Linked DNA regions of Homo sapiens: region 1 is linked to region 2. Evidence: promoter capture Hi-C in 16 types of primary human blood cells and fetal thymus (Javierre and others, 2016). All regions are on one chromosome and are shown on one strand. The core of a region is centred on a gene start or on the middle of the fragment in contact, and the rest is flanking DNA. Distances in the headings are between cores, read along the strand shown. Region 1 has its middle 4.6 kb from the start of NAPG. Region 2 holds the start of IMPA2 (inositol monophosphatase 2).

The links. Contacts are between HindIII fragments. The CHiCAGO score rates a contact against its expected background, and 5 or more counts as called.
Region 1: a fragment that was not itself captured here is called in contact with the fragment with the promoter of IMPA2 in region 2 in 1 of 17 cell types (total CD4 T cells); the score reaches 5.5 in total CD4 T cells.

What each region holds. Positions count from the first base shown.
Region 1 is chr18:10,519,611-10,523,163 of GRCh38, reverse strand. No RefSeq gene overlaps it. Among named protein-coding and RNA genes, the nearest start is that of NAPG, 4.6 kb to the left of the region's middle. The HindIII fragment of the contact is 4,914 bases long and covers 1-3,553 here.
Region 2 is chr18:11,979,796-11,983,623 of GRCh38, reverse strand. IMPA2 (inositol monophosphatase 2) reads right to left here and starts at 2,117. Exons shown (of 8, transcript NM_014214.3): 1 at 1,859-2,117. The coding sequence starts at 1,954. RefSeq lists silencers at 1,580-3,059, 2,900-3,194. The HindIII fragment of the contact is 12,350 bases long and covers 406-3,828 here.

The DNA of each region.
Region 1 (3,553 bases), core at 510-3,009, 1.5 Mb after region 2:
GAAGTCAGCTTAGAAGAACTGAGAATGGAAAGCATGGACCAAATGATGATAGACTAAGACGTGTAGTTTCCCAAGCTAGAATCGATAGTGTGACCCCAGGCCTTGTTGACCCATAAACGTAATTCTTGTTATCACAGCAGCTACCACCAGAACCTCAGCAAAAGTTGTCTTTGTGACTTCAACTTACCTCTTGCCTCCTCTCCTAAGGCTCTTTAGACGCTCATGTCCTCCCTCACCTACCCCGTCAACATACAGACTTGCTGGCTGCTGGCCCAAGTGATTCCATCTGAGCCAATCCTCTCCTCTAGTTCTAGAAACTCTTTTTCTTTATCCTGCCTCAATAAAAATGTGCATTCCTGAGTGATCTACTTGTTTTGGATGTGACTAAAATGATTCACATCAAAGTGTGAATGAGGCTTAAAATAGAGCTTGCAAACCCCATTCCTTCTCTCATGGTGGGCTTAAGTCTCTGAGAGTTCTTTAAGCCTGCATCCCCAGGTTCCTTGTCTACACAAACCTGCTTCCTTCCCCTAGCCTAGTCTGCTGCCAGGAAGCAAAATCCTTGGACCTACCTCCCACAGCTGAATGTTCCAGTCAAATAAAAGGTCTTTGTCATTTCTTGGAGAGAGGGTTTGATGGGTCAAATGAGCTCTATTTCAAATCAGGAATCATAAATAAGGAAACATAAGAGCTCCTATATCGCTAAGTTTTCTTTGTTTGTTTAATTGCTAGTAGCCTGACTGTGTAATTTTACCCTTTTCCCCCACAAATATACTGTTATGTTATACAAGAGATACACTTCTGAGACCCAGCCCAAGAGGTTAGCCATGAATCATAAAATCATTTCTCTGGGAAAATATATTCTGAGTTATAAATAACGAATTTACAAAAAACCTTTGGAACAAATTCTGCTATCATTTGACAGTTCCTTTCATCAGAATAGGATTTTAGAAGATTGTTCTTGGCTTTTTTTCTGATAAAACTAATAGAAGCCATTATGATCTGTATTTTTTTTTCTGGTTAAGTGTTAATGAATACATTGACTTTTAAAAATCACCACTGAATCTCTATGAGATTAATATGGAGAATTCGTTCTCCAGATTCCTGTGTCCAATGCCTTCTTAGCAGCTCCACCTAGACATCTAAAATGTCATACATAATCTGTTCAAATCTGAGCTCCTGATGCTCCCATACCTGCTCTCCCTTCAGGCTCAGCCATGCTGGGTTCATGGCAGCTTCACCCTCTCCTTGCCCAAACACTTGGAGTCATGCTCCTCTGCTCTTTCTGTCGCACAACACATGCAATCTGTAGGAAATTCTGTCGACTTTGCCTCCAAAAAGTGCCCAGAGGCAACCACGTCTCCTCATCTCCCTGTCCACAGCCACCGCGTAGTCTGTTAGTTGCCATCGTCTGTGACTGCACTCACCATCTGTGTTCAGAACACAGTGCAGTGCGAATTCCAGAGCAGAACTCAGTCAATTTTGGCTGAAAGTCCTGTGTCATTACGGAAGAAGAGGAAGAAGCATTTGGACACTTGGAAGGTGTTTTCTCTCAAGTCTGGCCATGGCCCTTCTTCAAGGTAATTTCTTTTCTTTCTTTCTTTCTTTCTTTTTTAAATTATTCTTTCTTTTTTTTTAGAGACAGGGTCTTACTCTGTCACCCAGGTTGGAGTGCAGTGGCATAATCATGGCTCACTGCAGCCTCAAACTCCTAGCCTCAAGCAATCCTCCTGCCTCAACCTCCCAAGTAACTGGGACTGTGGGTATGTGCCACCACACCTGGCTATTTTTTATTATTATTTTTAGTAGCGACAAGGCCTCACTATGTTGCCCAGGCTGATCTCAAACTTCTGGGCTCAAGCAACCCTCTTGCCTCAGCCTCCCAGAGTGCTGGGATCACCAGTGCACCCCCCTGCACCCAGCCCTTTCCAGTGATTTCTTTGGCTTGTATTTGCTTCTTTTTGCTGGGCTTTCTCCACATTCCTCTCAACCTCTCCTGCTCTAACCTTTCACAGAACCATCATTATTAATTTTTTTATTTTCAATTGAATTTCAAAATCAAAGCAAGAGAATGAATGTTTGAAAAGGAGAAAGAGAACGGGGCCACACCCACAGGTGCCAGCCATTGAAGACCAGGTAGACTGGCATCCCCTAACCATAGCATAGCTTCCAGCGCAGCAGGAAGCTGGGCCAGGTGGGGTCGGTGGGGAGACGGGTGCCAAAGGTGCCTGGAGTGAGAGTGGGATTAGCAGCGTGGAGCTTGCCTGAGCTCCCAGGCACCTGATGGATGCTGGCAGCTAAAACCTCCACTAAACCCTAGGGCCCCTGGTCACCATTTGCCAGAAACTCTACAAAGTGCTTTAGAAACACTGTTGTTATCCCATCTCACATATGAGGACTGAAGGTCAGAGAAGCTAAGTAACTTTCCTAAGGTCACACAGCAAGTAAACGGGAAGATGGGGACTTGAACCCAGACCCATCTGACTCCAAATTTATACTTGGCCCACTATAATGGACCAGAAAATGGTCCTTATTTTGTAATAGTTTAATAACCACTCACGCAACACCGCTGCTTAGTTGTATGGACCAATTATTAATTTTCAAATGTTTTTATGGGGGAAAAAATAGTCAGTTTACTACATACCTGGTACTTTACACCTACCTGCTTTGAAATTTTAATAATAATTGGAAAATGAGAGTTGGAAGTTTATTAGGTTTGACTGAAGTAAGTTGTCAAATGGCTGAGAAAGGGCCACCCCTAACAGATGCGCCAAGCATATTATACTGAGAAGTCCCACTTAGGTATACGTTGGCTGGGGAGAGTCCTGGCGTTCATTCCTTCTCCCGCGTAGCCTTATGGGTCTCTTCAGAAAACACATGGTGGCGCTGCCTGCACGTGCCTTTACAAGCTGCAAGCCGTCCAAACAAAAGTGGTTAGTTTCTGCCTCTTGGGATTACAGTCAGATTCTGGCAACATTTCGCATTCATAACTGAACTTTCCACATAAAAGCGATCTCTCTCACTGTTTTGTACACAAAGTGAGGCAGCATTGTCCGAGTACAGTAATGTTGGAAAGAGATGAAGCATTGTAAATGTTTAACAACAGATCTCTGTTAAATCCACTCTAACGAACACAACCGTTTTGATGAATATTATTTTTAAAGAGAGAGAAAAATACAGATCTTCCTTTGCAAGCTATCTTTGAATAAAAGATAAAACCAACACACTGAATTGGCTTAGTGGAAACCCGTCATGTATTTCATTAGACCACTTGCAGATAGCCTAGTGCCAACCTATAAATGTTCTCTCTTGAAAACCACATCCCATAGATATACAGCAATCATTTTCTTTCAAGGAGGATATATTCACGCAGTTACATTTTGTACAAATATAAAGTAGGCAAAATTGAAAGAATACAACATAAAACATGACTCATTAATGAAGTTTGTGAATTACTCATTCACAAACTGCATTAATGAATTTTTTTAAATAACATGTCTTCCAAATTAAGAATTCCTCAAGAAGTGCACGTTTGGAAGCTGCCAGGAATAAA
Region 2 (3,828 bases), core at 868-3,367:
TTTGTTGCTGGCAAGTTGCAAAAACATAAAATATCTCTTAAGTTAAAAGTCATAGGAGCCTTAGAACTGTTCCTGCTCTATTGCAAGCTCTTTATGCACATTTGTTAAATAATAACATAAAATTTTAAAATCTTCTGTTTCTTCAAGGATCTAAATTTGAAAACCACAGAAACTCCTAACTTAGCTCGCCAGGGTTTACACAGCAATGTCTGAATCCTAAGCTGGCTTTTCACTGCCTCAAGGAAGAAAAGTTTTACAGTAGAACCTAAAAGTTCCTAAATATCTGGCTGATGCTTGCTCTGGAAGGAAAGCTGGGAGGCAGGGAAGGATGGAAGGAGAACCCGTGTTCCATGCACACAGCAGCTCTGCTTTCCAGGAAGAACGCTTGCACTGAAGCTACAAGCTTCATCTGCCTTGCAGGAAGGTTTAGGGTCCTCCTTTTCCTACAGGAGGGAAAGGTCAAAGGGTGGAGTTTCGCAACACTCTTAAATTCATTCATTCTTTACGGTCTGAGGCTTGGGTTCTTCAAACTACAAAGGGAAGGAAGGCCCTTCAACAAAAAATGAGTCTACTTAGTATTGCAGATTAATTTTTAAACAGGATTAGAGGATTTGCACCAAGGTAAAGCACTATCCACTTTATGACGACTCACTTCAAATTTAAGATTGATAACAGTCCGATTTCAACATCTAGGGAAACTGGTAGAGCATTTTCGGACTGTCAGACCTCAAAAAAGAAAACAAATGTTTGAATATAAAAGGCCAATCTGCTCTCAGCACACCTCCTGTCTCTAAAATCCCCGAAAACAATCACTTTTTTTTTTTTTTTTTGAGACGGAGTTTTGTTCTTGTTGCCCAGGCTGGTGTGCAATGGCGCGATCTCAGCTCACTGCAACCTTCGCCTCCCAGGTTCAAGTGATTCTCCTGCCTCAGCCTCCCAAATAGCTGGAACTAAGGCACGCGCCACCATGCCCAGCTAATTTTGTATTTTCAGTAGAGACGGGGTTTCACCATGTTGGTCAGGCTGGTCTCGAACTCCTGACCTCAAGTGGTCCACCCGCCTCGGCCTCCCAAAGTGCTGGGATTACAGGCGTGAGCCACTGCGCCCGGCCCACAATCACATCCTAAGAGACAAACATGGAGTAAGCCATCTTACAGTCCTGGGAGAACCAACACTCGCTTGCCTACCACTACCGTCGGTGTGTCAGGCACTGCTAAAGGTACTGAGGAAAGTGGAAGGAACAATCACAAAAATGAAAAAGAGAAGAGAGGAACTGCACTCCATTTTAAACTCTGCTCGCTGGTTTTCGGTAGCTCTGCGGCTCGGTTTTCATCCTTCCGGGCAGTGTAACAAGTTCCTCCTGAACTCTGAGTCCGTGGCCGTCGCGGAGCTGAGCCACTTTCAGGGTGTGGGTCAGAGTAAGTTTGGGTTGAGGATGCTGCAGCCAGGACAATCAAACGGCAGCCCAGCCAGATCCCCACGCGGCTGGGGCTTAGCCCCGGGCTTCCTACCGCGAGCTGAATCCGTTCATAGGTCCTTAAAAATCAACAGCCCCGTACGCTACCCCTGGAGAGATTTCTACATTCTGACCACTCACTCAAACGCAAAGGTCACGTTAGCCGCTGAACTCCAAAGCAGAGGGGCTCGCCGCCAGGGCTCCGGGAGTTGGAGAAGGGCGCGGGAGGTGTGTCCAGGACACCAGCACAAAGGCTCCTTTCACCGCTCCGCGCCCCGCGCCCTCGGGTGCGGACCCTGGGCGCCCGCCGGCTGCGCGCCAGGACCCCGCCACTCCAGGCGGCTCCCAAGGCCCACGCGCTTCTGCTCCGCCCGGACTTCCGAGCCCAGCCGTGGCGCTCACCTGTCCTGCCCGCAGCGCCAGCTGCACGGCCGCCTGGAAGCACTCCTCCCAGGGGCCGGCCGCCAGCGCCGCCTGGTCCTCGCCGCTCGGCTTCATCGCGGCCTCGCCGGGCCCCTCCACCTCCAGCCCCCCTCGGCGGGACTCCGGCTCCCACCGGATCCCGCCGTCCCGCCGCCAGGCTCCACACTCCCTGTGCCTGCTCCCGCAGCTCTGTGCCTAGTCCGCCGCCCGTCCCACACCTGCGCTGGCGGGAAGGGCAGCCAGCGGGCCGCGGGAGCCGTGCGTCCTGCTTTCCGCTCCCCACCCTCCGCCCCGCCCCGTGCCGAGCCCAGCCCAGCTCCCCGCCCCGCTCCCCGCCCAGCTCCCTGCTCCCGCGTCCGGCCCCGCTCTGCATTCCCCACCTCGCCCCTCGCAGAGCTCGGCCCCGCCCATTCCCCCCTCTTCCCCGCCCCTTGACGCTCCCGGCCCCGCCCCGCACCCGTTGCTGCTCCTGGCCTCTTCCCGCGCCGTGCCCGGCCCCGTCCTGCACCGCCCCTCCCGCTCCCGGCTGCGCCCCGTACCTGGCCCCGCCCCTCTGGGCTAGCCCTGAACACAAATCAGTGCCGAGCCTGGTCCCTCTCCGCTCCGCGCTTTACCTCCAGCCCCGCCCCTGTGGTGCAGCATCACCCTCCCCGCTCGAGGCGGACCCAACCCTGCTCCGCCGTGCCCCGTCCCGCAGCGCGCAGAGCGGGCTCCAACTCCTCTGAGCCTCGAGCCCCGCCTCCCTCAAGTTGAGCCGGGCCCGTGTCCAAGCCCCGCCCCACCGCCGCGCGCTGAGACAGGCCCCACCCCCGGCTCGTGCAGAACTCCGTACTGTTCTGGGTCAAGCGCGCGGAGGGCGGCTTGGGCCACCGCAGAGCTGGGAGGGAGGAGCTAGGAGCGGCTGTTTTGGGGGCCCGGGGCAGCTACTGTCTGGGTGGGACCGTGCGGTGCCGGCCCAGCCCCGGAGGTGCCGGGGAGCGTCCCGTCCGCGGATCCCCGCGCACGTGGTGCCGGGCGTCCCTTCATGGTCTGTGGCCGGATTCGGGCTCGAGCGCCAGGGGCGGCTGGGCCAGCACCTTCCGACCGGTCGCTTTTTGTTCGCGGAGGCCGCTGGGCGCTAGGCGTCGTTCTCGGCCTCGCAGGAGCTCAGACCGCCGAGCGCACAAGGCCGCAGTGTTCCTGCAAGCGGCCGCCCCGCGCGGCAAGTTTGGTCGCAAACAAGCTCTCCCTCCGCTAACCCCAAACACTGCGAGGACAGCGGCTGGACTTTATAAACTCTTCACACCCAAAACTCGAATTTGGAGACGGAACTGTGATTGCGATGAGCCTCTGTAGTGAGGAATGACCTTTCCAACCTTGGATTCTCTTGCTGGCCCATGTAAACATAAATAGGAGGCATTTCCCGAAAGAGTGGCCGCGTGGTTTCCAAGGTTAATTTCATAAGCCGCTCTGCCTGCCCGTTTTATAAAAGATGCTAACCCACGTAAAATTATTCTGGAGTGCCACTTCGGAGTCTGGGAGAATAATGGGAGTTTGTACAAGAACCTTGATGGGGCATTTTTTACACACTTAACCTAATAATGAAATTAAACGTTTTTAGTTTTTGAGTACTTTATGCTGAAACACCTTGTGGAGAAACTTTAAGTGTACCGTATAAGAGACAAAAAGTACAAACAGGAGGAATTACAAACAGGAAATACAAACACGCAGATATGGGTACAACTTTAGGGACTCTGGCCTCACCCAGAGCCCTAATCCTACGGCTCAGAAAACTAGACCAATTGCCCTGCCTCCCACCACGCCAGTTTGGGGCAGCTAAGGGCGCACTCCCCTCCATCTTTTTTGGGTTCTTATGTTTTTATGATGTTTAAGACAGAGGCCGGGTGCGGTGGCTCACGCCTGTAATCCCAGCACTTTGGGATGCCGAGGCGGGCGGATCACGAGGTCAA